Regions from separate parts of the Homo sapiens genome. Here regions 2, 3, 4, 5, 6 and 7 are each linked to region 1. The links are contacts of gene promoters, found by promoter capture Hi-C in blood cells and fetal thymus (Javierre and others, 2016). All regions are on one chromosome and are shown on one strand. The core of a region is centred on a gene start or on the middle of the fragment in contact, and the rest is flanking DNA. Distances in the headings are between cores, read along the strand shown. Region 1 holds the start of TWF1 (twinfilin actin binding protein 1). Region 2 overlaps PPHLN1 (periphilin 1). Region 3 has its middle 8.7 kb from the start of ANO6. Region 4 has its middle 120 kb from the start of PPHLN1. Region 5 overlaps PRICKLE1 (prickle planar cell polarity protein 1). Region 6 overlaps PRICKLE1 (prickle planar cell polarity protein 1). Region 7 overlaps PRICKLE1 (prickle planar cell polarity protein 1).

What was found. The method cuts DNA at HindIII sites, captures the fragments that hold promoters and counts their contacts. A CHiCAGO score of 5 or more calls a contact.
Region 2: a fragment that was not itself captured here is called in contact with the fragment with the promoter of TWF1 in region 1 in 4 of 17 cell types (total B cells, naive B cells, M1 macrophages and 1 more); the score reaches 9.4 in total B cells.
Region 3: a contact is called between a fragment that was not itself captured here and the fragment with the promoter of TWF1 in region 1, in 1 of 17 cell types (M2 macrophages). The highest score is 5.8, in M2 macrophages.
Region 4: a fragment that was not itself captured here is called in contact with the fragment with the promoter of TWF1 in region 1 in 1 of 17 cell types (total B cells); the score reaches 5.3 in total B cells.
Region 5: a contact is called between a fragment that was not itself captured here and the fragment with the promoter of TWF1 in region 1, in 2 of 17 cell types (total B cells and M0 macrophages). The highest score is 8.1, in total B cells.
Region 6: a contact is called between a fragment that was not itself captured here and the fragment with the promoter of TWF1 in region 1, in 5 of 17 cell types (total B cells, naive B cells, monocytes and 2 more). The highest score is 15.8, in total B cells.
Region 7: a contact is called between a fragment that was not itself captured here and the fragment with the promoter of TWF1 in region 1, in 1 of 17 cell types (M0 macrophages). The highest score is 5.2, in M0 macrophages.

The regions. Positions count from the first base shown.
Region 1 is chr12:43,804,795-43,808,073 of GRCh38, forward strand. It overlaps TWF1 (twinfilin actin binding protein 1), which reads right to left and starts at 1,523. Exons shown (of 9, transcript NM_002822.5): 1 at 1,427-1,523. The coding sequence starts at 1,451. It also overlaps a transcript of TMEM117 not described here. RefSeq lists a silencer at 1,219-1,698. The HindIII fragment of the contact is 5,668 bases long and covers 368-3,279 here.
Region 2 is chr12:42,391,606-42,394,884 of GRCh38, forward strand. PPHLN1 (periphilin 1) reads left to right here. Exons shown (of 10, transcript NM_201439.2): 8 at 1,965-2,084. Among named protein-coding and RNA genes, the nearest start is that of PPHLN1, 67 kb to the left of the region's middle. The HindIII fragment of the contact is 1,824 bases long and covers 884-2,707 here.
Region 3 is chr12:45,205,773-45,209,051 of GRCh38, forward strand. It overlaps the pseudogene PLEKHA8P1. Among named protein-coding and RNA genes, the nearest start is that of ANO6, 8.7 kb to the right of the region's middle. The HindIII fragment of the contact is 6,012 bases long and covers 1-3,279 here.
Region 4 is chr12:42,445,906-42,449,184 of GRCh38, forward strand. It overlaps a transcript of PPHLN1 not described here. Among named protein-coding and RNA genes, the nearest start is that of PPHLN1, 120 kb to the left of the region's middle. The HindIII fragment of the contact is 1,799 bases long and covers 870-2,668 here.
Region 5 is chr12:42,461,888-42,465,166 of GRCh38, forward strand. PRICKLE1 (prickle planar cell polarity protein 1) reads right to left here. Exons shown (of 8, transcript NM_153026.3): 7 at 2,508-3,279. Among named protein-coding and RNA genes, the nearest start is that of PRICKLE1, 130 kb to the right of the region's middle. RefSeq lists an enhancer at 2,878-3,279. The HindIII fragment of the contact is 5,218 bases long and covers 1-3,279 here.
Region 6 is chr12:42,478,419-42,481,697 of GRCh38, forward strand. The region is part of intron 1 of PRICKLE1 (prickle planar cell polarity protein 1); the gene reads right to left. Among named protein-coding and RNA genes, the nearest start is that of PRICKLE1, 110 kb to the right of the region's middle. RefSeq lists enhancers at 760-849, 2,859-3,279 and a silencer at 2,345-2,545. The HindIII fragment of the contact is 1,540 bases long and covers 1,045-2,584 here.
Region 7 is chr12:42,577,601-42,580,879 of GRCh38, forward strand. The region is part of intron 1 of PRICKLE1 (prickle planar cell polarity protein 1); the gene reads right to left. Among named protein-coding and RNA genes, the nearest start is that of PRICKLE1, 11 kb to the right of the region's middle. The HindIII fragment of the contact is 5,978 bases long and covers 1-3,279 here.

The DNA.
Region 1 (3,279 bases), core at 273-2,772:
TTAGCTACATAATTCTGTGCAGAAATAACACTGGGGTGAATATACTGAAGTTACTCAAACCCAATAATGAGCAAATTACAATTTTGAAAAACTTTTCTTGCTCTTTTGAAAAATATTGAAAACCTGCTTTCATTCTCTAATTCAGTTTCAAGCTTATGACAGACACTCCTTCATCAATTCACTTTCTGTATTTTCCCGTTAAAAACAACAGTATATATCAAATATCCTAACTTGTTTAAAGAAAAAGACAATAAAATGCATTCAGTCTTAACTCTGGTTATATTTTTCTAACTTGCATTTCTCAAAAGCTAGATTAAACTCATTGAATAAATATGTATTTAATAACTAACCCTTGTGTTCCTATTAAAGCTTCAATTTCGTTCTAATTTCGTTCCTGTGTTGTCTATTAGCAGCAAGAACCACTATGTAAGTAGGTAGTGCTTGCTATAAGGCTCAAGCATGAGAGTCAATAACTACATATTTATATATCGAAATTAATGCGGATAAATAAAACAAAGTTTTCAGATTTGAGACTATTTTGCTTCTGCGTGCGTGCAGGGGGATGTGTGCGGTGGTGTCAAAAATCTTTACGAATAAAACATACAATTAAGTGTTCATCTGGGAGAAAGACTCGCTATTAACAGTAAGAGCTTGAGTTTACACTAGAACTCGTTAAGTGATCGCGAGTAACCCGGGGATATATTATTTGACTCTTGATGAGGTGAGTACCTGCAGGCTGCCCAATTTCAAACCAGGAAATAATGGAGGTCAGATATAACTGCATATTGAACTGTCTGCACGCATTACATGCAACCATACAGATCAGTTTCCCTTGGGGAGTATCTAGGAAAAAGATCAAAACACACGCTTACACTCGAGATTTCTCAGAACATAACTCTCATTTTCCTATTTGGAGAGAAAATGCGGGAGAGTTTTGGGAAGCACCCCTACTGATGTGAGAAAGATTCTGGCATGGTTCTTTTTGTAATCAAAGTCCTGTAATATTCTCCTTTGGACCATGAAAAAGAAAACTCGCCTGGTTCTCGACAGCGTACTGAAGCCCCAGTCGCCTCCACTGTCCCAGCTCTTCCCTACGTGACCAAAAGGGGGAAAGTTGGGCGACTGTCGGGGACGGTGGAAGGCACGCCCCCTTCAACCAGGCCGCCTCGAAAGCCAATTTCCTTCGCTCCCCCGAATTTCGGATCAATCTGCAACGTGACGGCAGCAGGGACCGGGCTGGAGGAGGACGCAGGCCGGCAGCGCCCGGGAAGCAGGAGCGCGGAGAGGCGCCGAGGCCCGGCTCGCCCCGCGAGACCGACTTCCGGAGCTCCCGGCCCGACTCCAGCCCTGCCGGTCCTGCAGCCCTCCCGGCTCTCCCGGCTCTCCCGGAAGCCCCTTCCCTGCGAGTCGCGCCGGGCGCTGTTACCTTGGATGCCGGTCTGGTGGGACATGGCGGCGGCCGCTAGCTCCCGGCTCCGGCGCTGAGTGCAGCCAGCGGCCCCGGCCGGCGGCCCCAGGAAGTGGCTGCTCCTCCGCCGGCCCCGGCGCGTCATCCGCCCGCGACCCGCGGCCGCCCCGCCCCGTGAGGTTGACTGAGTGCCCGAGCGTCCCCGCCGCCCCGCCGCCCTTCCTGGCCGCCGGGCTGCGGTCCAGCCCCCGGCCTCGCTATCCTAGTTCTCTGCTTGGGGTCCTGCTTCTGCTCTTGCCGCCGCCTCTCCCGCTTCTTCCGGGGGGGACATGCCGCAGAATCTAGACTGCTCAGTGCTCCGACGTCTGCTCTCTGACAACCCCGCCGACGCCGCCATTCGCTGCCTCAGCAAAGGGGTGCTCAAAAACGGAAGTGATCATTTTACCAAATAGGCATTTTCCAGCTTAAAAAAGATGTGCACATTATTTTTCTTGGTTTACTCTTCCTATAATCGATACCGTTTAGTGTAGAAAAGCCTTCTCCTTGCTCCATTGTTTTGAAAGAATTAATATAGACTGCCTCTCATCAAATTTTTCCACGATTTTAAATTAAGTTAATCTCAGACTGTTAACTTTTCTTTTCAGCTGGACACATTTAGAGACTCAGTGTATCTTTCTCTTCACTCCGGAAAGAGACAGCCACTAAGAGATTAGCTGATTTGAGTATCCCTCTGTGGTCGATTATACCATTGCAAATCCTGCTCTGCTTTAGGTTGGCAGTTTATTATTTAATCCAGTAATTATTCAAAATTCACTTGGACAGATTTGTAAGGTAGCAGCAGATATTACTTAAAAATCTTTTCCTTTCCTGCTTTTACAAACATGTAGTTCCTTCCTGAAAGGTAATGTTAGTTTTGTGGGGGGTTTGGTTTTTTTTTGGTACTGCTTCTCTACTGCTACTAGGTGGGAAGCTAGTTCTTATTTTTAGGGCCTTGAAGTGACACATACACAAAATTATAATCTGCTAATGAAGAAATAATTTATTCAGGTCAATAATATAAGTGCAAGTTAATCACTGTTCCAGTACTATACGATGTATTTTTCATGAGTGATGAACAGGCCTGCAATTGTTTTTCTTTACAAGAATCACAGCAAACAAGGTTATGTTCTATTGCCTGTTATCTGAGCTCTGTTTTTCAGACATATTCTCATATTCAGGAATAAACTAAATCTGAGTTTTATGACTTGTATGGATTTAAGAAATGTAGGGAGGAGTTTCATTCTAATCAAATTCTTCCTGACACAATGGTTCACCCTGATTTACCAGTTTTTGACTACATTGCTGAGCAGAGAGAAAATTGCAGAGTTGACTTGCAGTATTTTGACTGATTCATGTCCTAGTGCTTCGGGGAAATTGCTTAAGGAAGTTGGCGTTGCTCAAAAGTATAGTTGAGCAAAATATAATCCTTCCATATTCGTGCTTGGGAAAGGCCACTGTATTCTCAGTCCTGAAGAAGAGGAATGTCTAGTTAGGTTGGGACCACCCTGACAGCCACCAGAAAGTGCTTATTTACTGCCAGTACAATAGTTTGACTTAAAAGCTGCAAGCGTCTTGGGTACCTTGCTCTGCTCTAGCCACAAATATTTTCCCACTTTTCTTCATCTATTGTGTCTCCATTTAGTGAACATTTGCCAGAGCTGTCATGAGAATAATACCTTAGATTTGTATGGTAGTTTACAGTTTACAAATAATATATAATAGACTTATTTTGAGTACCAACATCCTGTGTGACGAGCTGAAAAAAATAGCAGGTTTTGTTTTTTAACTTTAAGAGGTTTGGAAATTGAACCACAGAGTTGGGAAGTCAGCAG
Region 2 (3,279 bases), core at 546-3,045, 1.4 Mb before region 1:
AGGTATGCCCCCTCACCCCCTGGAAAAAAAAACAACTTTCTTGGATATATTTGTGTTTGTATATGTGTTTTCTTCTTCTAACTAGCTTTTAAAAAAACCTTCTATTACTGAGTAATAATAAAAGTATTACTTATAATACCTTTTTAACCTTATATATGGACACGGCTTTGGAATGAGCTGTTTAAGCTTCCTCAATGGCTGTAGAATATACTTCATATAGATATATTGCTATAATATTCCAGTAAATGTAGATGGCTAGCCAGTAGTTTGATGAATTTAACAAGGTGTAGAAAAACATCAAATGACCTTTTCAGTTAAAAAAATGTCTAAGCCAGGCACGTTGGCTCATGCTTGTAATCTCAGCACTTTGGGAGGCCGAGGCAGGCGGATAACCTGAGCTCAGGAGTTTGAGACCAGCCTGGCCAACGTGGTGAAATCCTGTCTCTACTAAAAATACAAAAATTACCCGGTTATGGTGTGCGCATTTGTACTGTTAGCTACTCGGGAGGCTGAGGTTGGGGAATCGCTTGAACCCAGGAGGCGGAGGTTGCAGTGAGCCGAGATCGCGGCACTGCACTTGAGCCTGGGTGACAGAGTGAGACTGCATTCCCCCTCGCCCCTCCCAAAAAAGCCTAGATTTAAGTCCCAGCTCAGCATTTATTAATGACTTTGAGCAGGTCACCATCATTCAGTTTTTTAGTTTATGAGTTGGGATAATAAAGCCTCTCTAATCACCTTCATGGAATTCTATTTAATTAAAGTACTTCTTTTGGTTCATAGATAAAAGCACTTTATAAATGGTAGTGCCCCATAAGTTCAGTGCCCAGCACTGTCATCCACAAGAGGTATATTTGGAATCAGTGATGTGACTTTAGAGAAGTAAAGCTTAGTAATAGAAGGTTTTTTAAGAAGAGATGGTTATGCAACTAAGCATGGCAGGGCAAAGCTGATGAAAATGTATACCAAGGAAGTAGAATGGAATCAGAGAATTACCTTAACGGCCCTAAGGAAATAATTTTTAAATTTGTGCTTGACAATTCATATCTTATTTACAAAATAAGCCTTTAAACAGTACTGGGGGAATTATATCTGATCCAGAAAAGACATTTTACTTTCTTCATTTTTATATTGAGCCCATTGGCTGATTGATTTTCAGATATGTTTTAGTATAATAGATTCACATCAGTGAATATGGAAAAGAAAGAAACACTAAGGTACCAAGCATTATTGTGGATACTTCCAGATCTATTACCTCCTTCAATTCTCACAACTGCTTTGCAAAGTGAGCATTATTAACCCCTATTTTGTAAATGAAGAAACCAAGGCTCATGGTGTCGTAAGTTAGGTGTATAAAGTCATCTACCTAGCAAGTCATTAAACTGCGATTCAAAGCCAGGTCTGTATATAACTGCAAAGTCCATACCTTGTTTAGTATTGTGTGCAGTTAGATAAAGGAACTAGTAGTAGGATCAAAAAATGAAATTTAAGTTTAAAAATTTTGTGTAAGGAGTAGGATTTATGTAACTCACTGTACACTGTAATAATAGCATATCTGTACGTTTCTGTTGTATTAGGAGTTTGCTTTACTGAAATTTAGACATTACTTATTTCATTAAATATGCTTAAAGGCACAAAGTTGAAATCAGTATGATGTCTTTTATATTCTAAATATAATTATTATATGAGTTAATTGTCAGTGTCTTTTGCTTTGTTACTTAGATGAATTTCTAGAGTCTTATGTAAATGAAATTAAGAATTAGATCTGGTCTATATGTCCCAAAGGAATTGCTACTTAAAGTAATTCCATGTTGAATATTTTTGAAGGAGGAAATAAAGAATGTACCTGTTCTCCATAGAAATTTGGAGGCTTATATGATTTTAAATGTAAGTGGAGTGTACTTCTTGGTGTATTTGAAGTTTAAAAGCCCTTGAGAATTGTAACAGAAATGTTCTATTTTTATTAGGTGTTAGACAAACCCAGTAGGCTAACTGAAAAGGAACTTGCTGAGGCTGCAAGCAAGTGGGCTGCTGAAAAGCTAGAGAAATCAGATGAAAGTAACTTGCCTGAAATTTCTGAGTATGAGGTAAGGCATAATGTCTCCTTTATGTTTCACATCTGAAAGTTTTGTCTGGATTTTAAATTATGGGCGAAAAATATTTGGTTTATTCCTATACTTCAAAATATATCCTTATGGATTACAGGTATTAAAATTACCACACAGAATGATAGTCAGAATATGAATGACTCTGAATTCAGTAATCACGCTTTGTCTGAATGTTTCCTGTAGTTTTGGTGTGTAAGAATAGTATAAATATGGAGTATAAGAAAAATGCGTTATTTATATACTTCTTTTAATGGGCTTTGCTGTTAAAAGTATCTCAGGAAATCATGCTAAGCCACTAGTTATAAACCAGTGAATTCAGAACAGAAATCTAATTTGACCTTGGATTGTGGACCATATTTATATTGCTTGTTATACTTCATGCAGATTATCTCATAAATATCCCAAGAAATAAAATTATTCATTGTCTGGGCAACCCGAGACCTTGATGAGTCTTGAATACCGAAAGATGGGAACATTTTTGGGACCATAGAAAAAGGTTTATGACACGTTTGTATTAACATATTTTGAAATGAACTGAAAAATTTCTGTATAAACTGTAACATCTCTAAAAGGGAAATATAGAAATTCTGTGGTCACAATTAAGCTTTTAGATTCAGGATTTGATACTATAGGAATTCTTTGACATGACAGGTAGAGAATATAAAAATCCGTCCCGTGACAAATTATTTTTATTTGAAGGAGCATTCTGGCTTTTTGATTTACTTTTGGAATGACTTTTATAGAATGTTCTTTGATAAAAGGGATCAAGCATTGATATTGTATGTAAAAATAATACTTAACTACATCTTTATACAGTGAAAAGATCCTTTCCAAAGTAACTAATGTACACTGCTCATAAAAAGTATAAACCCTATCAGAACTTACGCAAATAGAGCCTTTCTTTTTAAAAATGCTGATCTGTCTTTTAGATATCGATTGTTCTTAAGTGGGTCAAGGTTTCCTCCTTATTGTAGCTATAATAATAGATATTTATGCATATTCTCCAGTAAATGTATCAAAAACACCAAGCTGTTCCTTCTTGGTACTTTTCCAGCACTATTTAAAAGCATGAACAATACTTTTCAGTAATACATTTAATTGGATTATTTTGGTTATTTTCTCTAATAATTTAGAATAATGTTTCTACATTAATCATTGATATTTATGCTTCAAA
Region 3 (3,279 bases), core at 326-2,825, 1.4 Mb after region 1:
TAGGCAGGTGGATCACCTGAGGTCAGGAGTTCGAGACCAGCCTGATCAACATGGTGAAACCCCATCTCTACTAAGAATACAAAAGTTAGCCAGGTGTGGTGGCATGCACCTGTAATCCCAGCTACTTGGGAGGCTGAGGCATGAGAATCGCTTGAACCCGGGAGGCAGAAGTTGCAGTGAGCTGAGATCGTGCCACTGCACTCCAGCCTGGGTAACAAGAGCGAGACTCCGTCTCAAAAAAAAAAAAAAAAAAAAGAAAAGAAAGAAAACTGTTCTAGCTACAGAAAAATTGCTAAATAGCTAGTTTTTACAAAGCCACCCAATCAGATTCATTTGGCACAGGAGATCATTTCCTCCTTTTGTGAAAAAAATTTTAACTTGGCTTCTACAACCTCACCCTTTCCTGTTGTTCCCCATTGCTGACTGCCCACTACTGTTTAGTCTCCTGTGCTGATTATTTCTCATTTTCCCCATGCGTATGTTGAAGAAAAGTGTCCTAGGGCTCAATCCTCAATCCTCAGACATCACCCCTTTGTAGAAACTCATTTTCCAAGTGATCTTATTCAGTTCTAAGTTTATATGTCTAGTGCAAAGCTCTCCTCCAAATTCCAGATTCATGCCTACTGGACATCTCCACATAGATGTCTAATATTACATTCAAACTTACAGGTCCAAAAAAATACACTATTTCCCCACCCCCTTGCTTTCCTGTAGTCTTTCACATCTCAGACACAGCAACTCCATTCTCATAACTCAAGTTAAAACCTTAGAGTCATCCTTGACTTTCGTTTTTCCCCCATACCCAAATTCACTACATCAGAAACTCTTTTCAGATCTACCTCAAAAACACATAATCCACATCTACCATTACCACCCAGTTCACTGCAATCATCCCTTCACTATATATATATATATATATATACTATATACATATACTATATATAAAATATGCATATACTATATATACTCTATATACTATATATAGTATATACATACTCTATACATATACTATATATACTCTATATATACTCTATATACTATATAGAGTATATATATACTATATATAGTGTATATATAGTATATATATACTCTATACTCTATATACTATATATACACTATATATACTATGTATACTATATATATTATATATAGTGTATATATAGTGTATATATAGTATATATAGTACATATACACTATATATGTGTACTATATATATACACACATATATATATACACACACACACACACACACACACACACACACATATATATATTCTGGATATATTTCTGAATAGACTCCATATATATATATATGTTCTGAAAAGACCATAAATGTATTCACTATACATATATATACATATATATATTCTGGATATATTTCTGAATAGACTATACATATTCTGGATATATTTCTGAATAAACTATATATATATGTCTTTTTTTTTTTTTGAGACAGAGTCTTGCTGTGTTGCTCAGGCTGGAGTACAACAGCACGATCTCAGCTCACTGCAATCTCTGCCTCCCAGGTTCAAGCCATTCTCCCGTCTCAGCCTCCCGAGTAGCTGGGATTACAGGCATGCACCATCACACCCGGCTAATTTTTGTATTTTTAGCAGAGATGGGGTTTCGCCAGGTTGGCCAGGCTGGTCTCGAACTCCTGACCTCAGGTGATCTGCCCACCTTGGCCTCCCAAAGTGTTGGGATTACAGGCGTGAGCCACTGCGCCCAGCCAATCGCTTCACTATATTATACAACTAGTTTCCCAACTGGTCTCTCTGTGACTACATTTGCTATTCTACAGTCCATTTTTCATAAAGCAGTCAGAAAGATCCTTTTAAAATATGTTAAATAATGCCACCCATCTATTTCAAATATGATTTCCATGTGATTTAGAGTAAAATCACCAGTCCTTCTGTTGCCCCACATGGCCCAAAGTGATTAGTAGCACTCCCTCTTTCTCACCAACCTTGACCCCATCTCCTACCACTCTCCTCCTCCACCAGTAGGCACTATGGTTTGAATGTGTCCTCCAAAGTCATATGTTGAAATCTTGGTCCACAGTGCAGTAGTGTCAGGACCTTAATGAGAGGTGTCTGAGTCATGGGCACCACCCTCATTAATGGATTAACGCCATTATCTTGAGGATGAGTTTATTATTATTGTTATTATTTTATTTTTCAGATGGAGTCTCACTCTGTCACCCAGGCTGGAGTGCAGTGGCGCGATCTCAGCTCACTGCGACCTCCGCCCTCCAAGTTCAAGCGATTCTCCTGCCTCAGCCTCGCAAGTAGCTGGGATTACAGGCGCCTGCCACCTCGCCCAGCTAATCTTTTGTATTTTTAGTAGAGATGGGGTTTCATTATCTTGGCTAGGCTGTTCTTGAACTCCTGACCTTGTGATCCACCCAACTGAGCCTCCCAGGCGGCATGAGCCAGCGCGCCTGGCCGAGAGTGAGTTTATTTTAAAAGGATGAGTTCAATACCGTCTCATGCTTTACCTTATTTTGACCTTCACCTTCCACCATGGGATGGCAGCAAGAAAGCCCTCTCCAGATGTGAGTCCCTTGATCTTGGACTTTGCAACCTCCAGAAATATTAGTTAATACATTTTTTTACCATAAATTATCCAGTCTGTGGTATTCTGTTATAGCAGCACAAAGTGAACTAAGACATTATACCACAGTCACCATGGCCTTTCTGCTCTTCTTGAAGACACTAAGCATGAGTGTCCTCAAGGCTCTGGCCTTTGTATTTCTCTCTTCTTAAAACCCTATTCCCGCGGGTACTTACATGTCTTGTTCTGTTACTTCTTTCAGATCTCTGCTAAAATGTCAGCTTATCAGAGGCTTTCCCTGACCACCCCACACAAGGTCCTTCCTCAGTCATCATTCTCTATCATTCTGGCCCTGCTTCATTTTTCTCACTAGTACCTGTCATCTCCTGACATATACTTATTTACTTGTCTCTATTCACTAGAATGGAAGGTCATGAGGGCAGCAAAGTGGTCTGTTTTCATTTTAACTACTGAATCCCCAACATCCATGAAAGTGGCCAGCATATAGTTCTCAGTAAATATTTGAGGGTTTTTTGTTGTTTGTTTTTTGGAGGCAGAGTCTCACTCTGTCACCCAGGCTGGAGTCCAGTGGCGTGATCCTGGCTCACTGCAACCTCCACCTCCCTGGTTTAAGTGATTCTCCTGCCTCAGCCTCCTGAGTAGCTGGGATTACAGGCGCACGCTACCACACCCAGCTAATTTTTGTATTTTTAGAAGAGATAGGTT
Region 4 (3,279 bases), core at 519-3,018, 1.4 Mb before region 1:
ATATGGCATGGTCCAAATGTTTTGCTAACATGGGGAAGAGGATATGCTTGTGTTCACATCCCCTCAGGCCCTCTTTGGATTCCAGCACGACGCATCAAACCATACCATAGTGGGGCTAGGACCCAACCAAGTACCAGAAATGAAGGAAACGACCCTGCAGGCCCCGCAGCCCCCGCAGGCCCCGCAGCCCCTGCAGCCCCGGAAGAAACGGGTTCGTCGGACGACACAGCTTCGTCGGACGACAGGAGCCCCAGACATTACCTGGGGGATGCTGAAGAAGACAACTCAGGAGGCTGAGAGGATCCTGCTCCGAACACAGACACCATTCACTCCAGAAAATTTGTTCCTTGCTATGCTCTCTGTTGTACATTGCAACTCACGCAAGGTATTGGTCCTTTTTATTCTCTCACTTTGCCTGTTACCCGTACCTACTATACCCTATTAAGCCCATTTTCTAAATCTGCCTTTTTTCAGCCCTATTCCCTTCCCAGCGTCTAGCAGTGTGACTTTTTAGCTAGGAGGGACTAACATACCCCCAGTGGGGTTCCTCAGTAACAGCCATATGGAAGGATATGCAAAAAAAAATCTCTCCTAGAAAGACCCCCACTCCTGGGGGTCGCTTCTTAGTTAGAAAAGAATATTACTAATTATACTCATGTTTGTCTCTTGTTGTTTACTAATTCTAGGATGTAAAGCCAGAAAACAAGCAGTAACTGCTATGCCTGACAAAACTGTTGCTGCACACATCTGTACTCGTCAATCAACAAAACCTGATGCAAAAAACAGAAAAGGGGTGATGTAGGAGATGGTCAGGTTGGTAGGAGAAGCTATAAGGAAAGACGCAATTGGAAGGTCGGGAGGTTTTCCAAAGCTTCAGGAGAGAATAAAGCTGAAGGCAGCTTTATTAATTAATTCTCTTACCCTGAGGCTGAGGGCGAACAGTAGGTAGCAAGGGAGTGTAAAGGAATTTATCTAGATAAGTTTGTTTACTTATGCCCTCCGGAAATCATGCAAGACTGCTCCCTGCAAAGGGGGGCGACAATGTTCATTACTCACAAATTGTGTTGGCTTCAGGCCTTTGGTATTCTGTCTCTACTGAATAAATACAAATGGTTCCAGCCTATCAGGACTGCACTCTCTTCTCGGCTGCACTAAAGCTGGCACTCCCCCAGCCGTTCTCATGCAAAATACCTGTGTCAGAATACTCCTTTCATCCATCACTCAGCCAGAGTCTTCAGGACAGACTCCGCATGGGACTTGTCCAAAAAAACTCTAATCAAAAGAGGAAAATTTTGGAATATGCCAGGAATAGTGGAATTTTATTTTTTAAATTTTTTTATAGGCCCATATGCTCTATCTCAAGAAACAAGATGATTGTAACATGTCCATGATTAAACTATTGGCAGATTATTGCTGTGTTAATCTCTGTAGTCTAATGAGTTCTTTGTTCTGTTCTGCTGCCTTTTACGTTTTCTTGTCCTTTCAAAAGTGTTCTTGAAAGAAACAAAGCGAATAGGCAGTTAGCACAGCACAGCTACCCCTTACCAAGCAGTCTATGGAAACAACCCCTCATCCAAATCATGGGTTAGTTAAGAATCTAACTGGGGCAATTAAGATGAATTCCACTCACTTCCTGGTCACTTCAGCAGCCCAGCGGCATTGAGCCAAAATATACAATTCTGTGTTATTAGTGAGGAAACTTTAAAACTCATGTTTGTTATTACTTACTACCCAATTTCATTATCCTCCCTTCCTCTTTCCATTTCTATTCTCTCTCACTTGAATTCTGGCATTATTTTTAGTGGCCTCTACTGATAATACCTACCCTAGAGTACATAAAAATTATATTAAAAGAGGAAGTAGCAGTATGCATAATTTTAACAGATTCTATAATGGGTGCCTCAAAATATGTATTGTGCCATTCCGCAAATTTAAAAGCTAATTGAGGACAATTTTTTTTTAATTTCCTAAATGAGACCACCTTGGATTTTTATTTTTGCCATTTAGATGTTTATACTTATTTAGCTTTTATAAAACATAAGCCAAGCTAAATCCCACATAACAACTCTGGTATTCTTCCCTCATATGAGCAGTGATTTTATTTGTTACCCACCTTAGATAGACTAAGAAAGTTCTAGTCTTGTTTCTCCTTCTCCCCGCTTCCCTGGGGTTTTTCCTTACCATAAGTATTCTGGTCCGAGGGTTCAGTTCCTTTAGTCAAGATGTCACAAGTTTAAAAACAAAACTTGAGAAACTACCAAAGGCTCAGGAGTTGTCCACTTTGTTGAAATCCATTAAATTAGAGAAGTCTCACTAACAGATGTATTTAAATATAGGTACAACAAATAATTTCTTTTTCTCCCCTTCCCCAAATTACAGTCAGCATTTAAAGCTGTTTATGGCTTGCCATCAGCATTATTCTGGTAGGCTTGTTAGTGTTAAAATCTATTTGATTTTTTTTTTTTTTTTTTGCCTCTTAAAGTCTAATTTTAGGATGGATGAATTCAGATGTTTACCAGAGTGTGTATTTTACATAATGTTCTTGATTAAAAAGACTTGTTTGTAAATTATCCGTTGTTTTTGCATATGCCCAGTTGATGTGATAAAATTTTCATTGTCTTGCCATATAAAGCCTTGGTTATCAACAGGTGGAATGTAGATATTGTAAAGCTTTTTGTGAATTAAAAGTGCAAAATAAAGCAACCACATTTAAGTAGATTGTCTTTTCTCTTATTTTAACAGGGTTAACGTATTTTGCTAAAATGTGAGCTTTATTACTCTGTACTGCAAGATTACTTCTTAGTCTTCAGTTCACCTACTCAGCAGCAGGATAGAGGAAGTGTGAGAATTGAAAAACTACAGCAGTGCCCCCTCATCTGTGGTTTTGCTTCCCATGTATAAGTAAACCATGGCTACCATTGTCCAAAAATATTAGATGGAAAATTTCAGAACAACTCGTAAGTTTTCAACTGTGTGCCGTTCTGAATGAAATCTTGCAGCACCGTGCTTTGTCCCACGTGAATCATCCATTTCTCTAGTGTATCCACACTGTATACACTACCCACCTGTTAGTCATCTGTACCATTTACTCCTGACATCCAGCCATTGACTATGTCATGGTTCCATGATCCAGGATCACCCAAAGCAGATGATCCTCCTTCTGATGTATCGTCAGAAGGTCATAGTAGTGCTCATGCCTGTAATCCCAGCACTTTGGGAGGCCAAGGTGGGTGAATCACTTGAGGTCAGGAGTTTAAGACCAGCTTGGCCAACATAGCG
Region 5 (3,279 bases), core at 780-3,279, 1.3 Mb before region 1:
TCCTGGGTTCATGCCATTCTCTCACCTCAGCCTCCCGAGTAGCTGGGATTACAGGCATGCGCCACCACGCCTGGCTAATTTGTTGTATTTTTAGTAGAGACGGGGTTTCACTGTGTTAGCCAGGATGGTCTTGATCTCCTGACCTCGTGATCTGCCCGCCTCGGTCTCCCAAAGTGCTGGGATTACAGGTGTGAGCCACCGCGCCCGGCCCTATATAACTTCATACTTTTTAAAGGGGGCCTATTTTTCAGCTTATTATTGTCAAGGAATGTCAGCCCCTAACACTTAAATGTGTACCAAGTTATGTTTAATTCTTTTATTTATTTTTTTTGAGACAGAGTCTTGCTCTGTCACTCAGGCTGGAGTGCAGTGGTATGATCTCGGCTCACTGCAACCTCCGCCTCCCAGGTTCAAGTGATTCTCCTGCCTCAGCCTCCCGAGTAGCTGAAATTACAGGCACATGCCACCATGCCTGGCTAATTTTCGTATTTTTAGTAGAGACAGGGTTTTGCTATGTTGGCCAGGCTGGTCTCGAACTCCTGACTTCAGGTGATCCACCTGCTTTGGGCCTCCCAAAGTGCTGGGACTGCAGGTGTGAGCTACCACACCTGGCCAAATTATGTCTATTTCTGATATTAAATTTAAAACTCCTAGCACTGGGCCTGGCAGACAAAAGGTGCTTACTCAGTCTCACCCACCATTCTTCCTCAACTCCCCTTTATTGCCGGCCTTATCTTTGACAAGTCCACAGAAGCCGGGGGGGTAGCTTTGCCGTACCCTTCCTTGTCACTGCAGTGTCTGGCACAAGTTATTCCTGGCAGGAAGCAGCTACTAAGCCTTTCCTGTCTACATTACAGAAGCATTACCTTCATCAAAGGGCTGGATGTCAGTAGTTTGACTATAAAACTAGCCATGCAACAGCAACATTTCTATAATCCAAAGACTTGTTGCAAATAATTTGCATAATGTCCTAGGTTCTAGGCCTAATCTTGCCTTTAGAACCTATGTAATGTTTGGCATTTAGCCTTTTGGTAATTCAAGTTTCCTCATTTGTGAAATGCAATCATATCATCCACTCTATATAGCTCAGGGTCATTTTAAAGATAAAATGTGGATAACTGGTATGACTGTGCTTTGAAAACATTAAAGTAGGCCAGGGGCAGTGGCTCACACCTGTAATCCCAGCACTTTGGGAGGCCAAGGCAGGTGGATCACCTGAGGTCAGGAGTTTGAGACCAGCCTGTCTCACAAAAATTAGCTGGGCGTGGTGGCAGGCGCCTATAATCCCAGCTACTCATGAGGCTGAGGCAGGAGAATCGCTTAAACTCAGGAACCTGAGAGGCAGAGGTTATAGTGAGCTGATATCGCGTCATTGCACCCCAACCTGGGTGACAAGAGTGAAACTCCATCTCAAAACAAAACAAAAAACTAGGAAAAAAAAGAAAACATTACAGTAATATTTTAGAATCTAAATAAAAAGTATTCAGCTGTTTTTGAGCTACTGTCACAGGGAAATTCAGGAAGATGTTTAAAAAAAAAAATGAGCTTGTGGCCAGGCGTGGTGGCTCATGCCTATAATCCCAGCACTTTGGGAGGCTGAGGCGGGTGGATCACCTGAGGTCAGGAGTTCGAGACCAGCCTGGCCAATATGGCGAAACCCCATCTCTACTAAAAATACAAAAATTAGCCAGGTATGGTGGTATGCACCTGTAATCCCAGCTACTGGGGAGGCAGAGGCAGAAGAATCACTTGAACCCGGGAGATGGAGGTTGCAGTGAGGTGAGACTGCGCCATTGCACTCCATCCTGGGCGACAAGGGCGAAACTCCACCTCAAAAAAAAAAAGAGCTTGTAAAGTGTGTGGGCCAATTTTGGTATCTTAGAATACATACAGAATAATTCAAGCGTACAATATCTTTCAGACACAATCCAGTTGTACACTCCTTCCTCCAATCAATTTCCTTCTCTTCAAAACAGGGTAATAAAACCTATCCCTAAAGACTGCACTGTAAATATATTTTATGCACATGCACTCACCTCACACATGTGTTTGTTTTGCTAGTGTTTGGTATTTAAGTGAGGTTCCTTCCTTCCCTTGATCCATGGTTTTGAATAACACACAACTCCTACTCATGCTGAATTGCAATTTTTTTTTTTTTTGAGATGGAGTCTTGCTCTGTTGCCCAGGCTGGAGTGCAGTGGCGCAATCTTGGCTCACTACAACCTCTGCCTCCTGGGTTCAAGCAATTCTCTTGCCTCAGCCTCCCGAGTAGCTGGGATCACAGGCCCATGCCCAGCTAATTTTTGTATTTTTAGTAGAGCCGCGGTTTCGCCATGTTGCCTGGGCTGGTCTCGAACTCCTGACCTCAAATGATCTGCCCACCTCAGCCTCCCATAGTGCTGGAATTATAGGCATGAGCCACTGCGCCTGGCTTGAATTGCAATTTTTTGAATACACTTTTTAGTAGCTCCTTTTTTCAAATACCCCATAATCCCTAGATTACGTACCTGTGATATTGGACAATGCCAAAGAATCCATCGAATCCCGAACACTTTGCTCTGGTTTCAGGTCTGACAGACACTCCAGGGAATCTTCATACCACTGTGTTTCATCATGATTATACCCTGAAGCCCCATGGTCCAGTTCCAATTCCTGAAGCCTTCTACTGCTTGCAGGGCCTGGGTGGCTGCCATAAGCAGAATCGCCCAGTCCATCTTGTGACTGTGCCCAGTACATATCAGACTGGTATTTTTTACTTGCAAGGCTCTGGTTATTTTGCTTTAACTCGGTCTTACTTTTAACCATGTTATCAGATATCCAGTGCTCACTGGCTCGAATATCCATCTCATTGGGCTGTGGCTGAAAGAGGCTTTTATCACCAAACTTGAGGAGGAGCTGCGTCATATAATCTTCATGATCAGCCCATTCTTCAGGGTCTTCTGGAGTTTCCTGCTCTACTCTGCCTTTCCAAAATTCTTCACTGGCAAAACTTGTTCCTTGTCTGGAGAGACTCAGATCATCCAATTTTCGAGAAAGGGTGTCATCAGCATTGCCTGAGAGGCCAGGAAACTTGTAGTTCAGAGCAGGCGATAAGAGGAGAGACTGTCTACACTGATCTGCTGACCGGCTGCTCTTGCCCATTCGGACACTTCTTCGGGAGTCTCTTGATCGAGCTGACTGAAATGCAGAGTCGGAAGAATCAGAGGCATGGACGTCTTCACCAAGACTGCACGTTTTTGAGCAGTAAATCTGACCCTGTTTGGGAAGGAAGGGACATCC
Region 6 (3,279 bases), core at 565-3,064, 1.3 Mb before region 1:
TCAGAGATGGGTTTGTTCAGGTTCCAAATAGTCTGACCATTAAGGAGGTGTGTGGAGGGCACAAAACCTTTTAACAGCTACCACCACCATCAAAGATGGCATTGGGAGGGGGTGGTCAAGCACAAGGAACTGCTGTTAGAACTTAATTCTCTAGCAGGTTCATGAGTTCTTTGCAGACACTATTTTGAAAACTAAAAGCCTACTATCAGAGTCAAGTAGAGAAATAAATGTCAAACAGAAAAGAAGGGTATGGTCACAAGGGAGGTGAGAAAGAAGCCCAAGGTCATGTAGAGAGAGCTGGGATACTCTTTTTTTTTTTTTTTAGAAAGGCAAGGAATATCATGGGGCTATTCCATGCAATAGAAAATGGAACAGTTCCATTTCCCTCCTTTGTCCTTTCTCTCGCCTCTTCCTTCAAAATAGTTAAATAGCTATTTCTCATCATTAAAAACAAAGACAAGCAGCTAACAGATGTAAGACTTCTCAATCATCATTGTCAAGAGAACATCTGACCCAAAGGATAAGGGCTATACTTAGGGAATGGAATCTGATGCTCTCAGCATTCAGTAAACTTGGTCCTGATGTCTTCAAAGCTTTGACAAGTCAACAAACATCTTGAGACCTGATTTTAAAAAATAGCCACTATTTGCCTTCCAAAGATGGTCTAAGGATGTTTTAAAACAGAAAAGAATTTCACGACCATAAAGAATTAAAGCTCCTATTGCAACGTACCAATTGGCATTGCTGCTTCCACTGGGACTAAACAGACTTTCTTGAAGCTAACCAGTGACAAATGGAATTGAAACAATATGTTAATAACAAAACCTGAGTTTCATCTTCTTTTTGAGCTTGCGAGAGCTCTAGCCTTCTGAACGGCAGACAATTTTGCCAAGTTATTGACCAACGTTTCCAGCTGCTTCGGTAGCAGCTTCTAACCAGTCCCCACATAAAGCCTCCAATACCATACACATAGCGTGTGTGCGTGCACACATTCGCACACAGCATGTGTAGTGGTCTATGGAGCATGACAGTTTTTCTAGGTAAAGCTTGTTCCCCAAATTCAAGTATGGCCTTATTCATATAACACAGTGATATAATGAGGGGTTCCTTTGTGAAATTTACTTTCTAGGTTCATTCACTGCATTCATTCATTCATCCTTATATTTAAAGTTGTTATTGAACGGTTCTGGGGAATGCCAAAAGGAGCCAACTGACATTTATTCCATTAAAAGCCAGAACTTAGAAAGAAATGTAGCCACCGGGTGCAGTGGCTCATGCCTGTAATCCCAGCACTATAGAGGCTAAGGTGGGTGGATTACTTGAGGTCAGGAGTTCGAGACCAGCCTGATCAACATGGTGAAACCCCATCTCTACTAAAAATACAAAATTAGCCGGGCATGGTGGCGCATGTCTGTAATCCCAGTACTTGGGAGGCTGAGGCAGGAGAATTGCTTGAACCTGGGAGGCAGAGGCTGCAGTGAACCAAGATCATGCCATTGCACTCCAGCCTGGGCAACAAGAGCGAAACTCCATCTTAAAAAAAAAAAAAATTCCATTATTCATCTCCTTGCTTTCTTTCGTGGTGGCACGTGTAAAAATTATATGTGATTTAGCCTTCGGCTGATCATTTGTTTTCATTTTGAGCACAGTAGAAAACACTGGCTTCGGGATTCAAGAAACAGAATGGCCCCTGACCCATACATTTATGATAACTAGCAAACTTTTTGTAGGTTTTTTTCTCCCTGCTCTCATAATGTTTTGATCCCTGCTACCTGTCTCTTATTAAGGTGCCTTTCTCTTTTGCCCACAGCCAACAACCTCCAAACCTTTCAAAATTTGTTGCTTCCGGTATTAGGCAACCATTCTTTGAAAAAGTTTGTCTAAAAGTACACAGAAGCTGGGCATATGCCTATACTCTCAGCTACCTGGTGGCTGAAGTGGGAGGATTGCTTGAGCCCAGGAGTTTGAGACCAGCCTGGGCAATACAGCAAGACCCTGTCCCAAAAAAAAATCTATGTAGTAATTATGGCATGGACAAGGGCTTAAGGACTTCTCCTATAAGCACAGTAACCACTGGTGAAATAAGATAGCATACAGTGTGAGAAGGTGTTATTCAAACTAAAGAGAAGGTTTATTATTTCGTTATGCTATTTTGGCCACTTGGGGATCATTTCATTTTCTACTGGTCTGTATGCTGCTTCCAGGATAGCTAAGGATTATTATCTTGATTGACCTTGACATATACATAAATGAGCCATAACTATGTTTCTGTAAAGAGCTTAATAAGTCAGCACAGTATATGAAGGTCCAGAGGCAGTGAAGAGTGGACGGTTTTGCTAGAAGACAGATTCTTCCAAAGAAGCAACAACAGATGGCAATGGTGTCTGAATCCTATTTTCAAGAATTACACATTTCAGGCAGAAAACTGTGGGCTTATCACTACAGGCAATGGGAAGCTGCAAAAGACATGAATGGAGACTGCCACAAGATACTTCTGGGTCTTAAAGAAGATTAATATGGTAGTGATGGTCAGGAAAAAGATAAAGAACCTGAGAGGGGCCAATTAGTACACTGTCCCTAAGAAAGCTTACACATAGTGACTTGGGGAGGGAAAGTAAAAGGAACTAATAGGAAAGGAAGAAATTGGGCCAAAGACAGTTTTGAGTATTAGGTGATTGACATACCAATACATAAGTACCTTAGGGCAACTCAGAAGGGGAGTGAGGATTTGAGGGATTTCAGGAGAATGAGTTTAATCAGATACATATTGAGGTTGTAACTGTATATCAGGTCTGGTATGATTCCTATTATTCATAATTTTCTTGAACCAAGTCACCAAATCAAAATCATGCAAATAGAAAACAGTAATTGTCAGGGCCTGCCATTGAAAATGAAGTATAAGGTCATATCCCTAATTACATTTTTTTCTCCAATGCAATCCCACTCTAGTTCCTATATGAAGACTACCATGGCATTGTAAGATCCCTATGAAAAAGTATTTCTTGTGTGAACATGCCCAGGGAAGTTAGAAATCCTCTGATCACCAAAAGCCAGAACAGATACTGATTTGTGAAGTCAGTTAGGCCAACATTCCCTAGGTGTCCCCTGCTGCTAAGTGCCATCCGTGGGCTACAAACTGCTTAACAGCTTCTTTGTTAAACTGCTTGTTAACAAGGCCTTAGTGCATGGAAGATGCAGATCACAGGTTCTCCATTCAAAAGCTACTCCAATTCTCCCAGACTACATATGCAGGTGAATTAAATTTAACTACAGACTAAT
Region 7 (3,279 bases), core at 302-2,801, 1.2 Mb before region 1:
CCACATTTTTAGAGTCAAGTAAATTTTGAGCTTAAAAAATCATCAGCCTCTCCTCACTTTACAACTGAGGAAACTGAGGCACAGAGTGGGTACGAAGGCCAGAAAATTATGTGACTCATCTAAGATCCCATGCAAGTTAGTAGGAGATGCAATAATTATGTAAAAGCATTTAATATAGAACACACATAAGCACAGCAATATTTATGAAACAATAAAATATCATCAAACAATTTTGGGTAAGCTACAAGTGCTTGCTTACTTTCCCTTTCTATTGTTCTTTTCTTCTTTCTTTCTAAAAATTTAACTGCAAACATTCCTTTATTTAGGAACTGGCAAACCAAAGCTCCTTAGGAAGCTGCATCTCGAACTAAAAGGTAGCTTCCTCATCAGTAAATTGGGATAACCTTGGTCAGACCTGCACATAAAGATGCAAGGAAGATAAAATGAGATGAATATGAAAGTGTTTTGTGTACTTTGGAGGTATTAGTCTTATCATAATAAAGAACCCCCAAGTTGAAACATGGTAATTTCTGGATAAATAAGTTGGCTCAACTTCTTAATAGGAAAACAGACTCACTGCCAATTTAGCTCTGGAACTCGAGACATTAAAATAATAATTTCAAGCAACTAGGTTTCCTAGCAAGCTGGTTGAAATCACTTAGAGGATTAGCTTTTCACCCCTGGAATTTAAATCAGGAGATTGTTTGAGTGAAAGACAGTCTGTCATCCATGTTTTAACATACATGGCAACATCACAAGCCTCTCTGAAGATTCTACCTCTATTTTTTTTTTAAGGTTACAGAGTGGCATGGGTGTATTATGAAGAAGGAAGTCACATAGCTTCCTTGTTGCACATATTCAATCTTCTATTAATATAGCATCCCTTTGCTAGATGATTACATTTCCTTGATCACTTGGGAGTGTGGAAAAGGAAGGAGGGTTATTTGATACGCATCTTTCCTTCTATTCTACCATGTTTCTCTGGCTTTATTTAGATAAAAGGGTAAACAGCTGAGAAACTCCACTTCAGCTGGGGGGAAAAACCCACAAAAATGCTCCAAATAAAATATCTCTATCTCCTTTCTAAAAAATTTTTAGGTCAGATAAAAACAGAATACTGGCTACTATTTGTGTTTATTTCATTTTATTTATTTATTTATTTATTTATTTATTTATTTTGAGACTGAGTTTCACTCTTGTTGACCAAGATGGAGTGCAATGGCACGATCTTGGCTCACTGCAACCTCAGCCTCCAGGTTCAAGTGATTCTCCTGCCTCAGCCTTGCGAGTAGCTGGGATTACAGGCGTGCACAACCACGCCAGGCTAATTTTTTGTATTTTTAGTAGAAACGGGGTTTCACTATGTTAGCCAGGCTGGTGTCGAACTCCTGACCTCAGGTGATCTGCCCACTTCGGCCTCCCAAAGTGCTGGGATTATAGGCTTCAGCCACTGCTCCTGACCTTATCTTTATTTTATATACAACATTAAAATGGCAGTAGACAAAACAGTACAGAGGTATCTTCAGGGAACAGGTAGCTATCACAATAAATATCTAACAGTGCTATGAAAAAAGGTACAGCAGCTTAAGAGGATTGGGGAGTGCTAGATGGTGACTGGGAAAAAGCAGGGATGCTGCTATTTTTTACAGGGTGACCAGGGAAGGCTATCTGACATCAGATGACTTTTGAGCAGAGACCTGAAGGGACAGAGTGAGCTGTGATTTCACATGTCTTTTTTTTAACATTCGTTTAAAGTCCAGTACAAACAAGGAGATCTGCTGTAAAACTTCAGGAAAGTCAAATCTGCAAATATTAAGGCTTTATACAATACTCTGAACCAGCTCTCAATTTATTTCAAGTAATCCTTGACCTGTTTAGCTACAGTTAAGTATTTTTCCTAAAATGCTTCACAGTATTTCTTCACATAATAATTAAAGAGAGTTTTCCAGTTATATGTGCAAACAACCCAGGTAGATAATTCAGGTAGAATTTTCCATTCTGAGACCCTGATGATTTGATTTGGCAGAGGGCATATGGTAGGAAGAAGGTGCTAAAGCTAGCTGATTTTGCCACTGGCCACGTGTAAAAGTTCAAAGGAAATTGGATAGTTAGCCAGGTTTCAGAATAGTGAGTTTTAAAGTTCTTCTTTTAATTAAAAACCAAATAAAACAATAATAAAACCTCCCCCAAAATGGCAACAAACAACAACAAATCAAGTAAAGTAGGTATCATATGTCTTCTTTATTATTATTATTTTTTTGAGATGGAGTTTATATTATTTTTTTTTTTGAGATAGGTTTTGCTCTTACCACCCAGGCTGGAGTGCAATGGCGCAATCTTGGCTCACTGCAACCTCCACCTCCTGGGTTCAAGAGATTCTCCTGCTTCAGCCTCCTGGGTAGTTGGGATTACAGGCACCCGCCACCACGTCCAGCTAATTTTTTGTTTTTTTTTAGTAGAGGCAGGGTTTCACCATGTTGGCCAGGCTGGTCTCGAACTCTTGGCCTCAAGTGATCTGCCTGCCTCGGCCTCCCAAAGTGCTGGGATTACAGGTGTGAGTCACCACACCTGGCCCCAGATACATTTAAAAACCTTTACAGTGATTTGACCAGATTATATTTCTTAAACTGACATAGAAAACTGGAATTCATTCATTCAACAAATAAGGATGCTCAAAAAGTGAGGAAACATAGGATCAATTTATTTTTCAACAGTATATTAATTATACTTTTGAATAATATGCTCAACATCTTTTTCTGTCAACCTCCAGATATGTTTCCAGTTGAAGTAATTCCAAATTTAAAGCAATGAGATCAGTTGTTAACCTGGAGAAAAATACAATAAATGCACCATGGAGTATGCCTAAAGTCTGGAAACTGAAGGAAAATAATGTATTTATTATGTTGTTTTTCAGATAAACAATTATGCTCATTGTTTTAAATTGGGAGATACTTTGTGCGAGAGGTGTTTGCAAGTTGACAAAATATACACTGAGCATATTATTTGAAAACATAACAGTATATATATTTTTAAGTTTCTTGAGTTTTTGGACTCCCTGTATTTGTCAAGTTTCTACTATGCGCCAGGCACTGTGGTAGGCATGAGGTATGCAATGGTGAACAAACATGGCTCCTTGTGATTAGCATCTACTCACAGGCACAGAACATAGATCTTCATTTCCAGGTTGAAATGACATCTATAATATTTTGACAGCAAAATATCAATGACTACTTTTAAGGAATAAAAGCAGTCATTAAGAGTGAATGAATGAACAAAAGA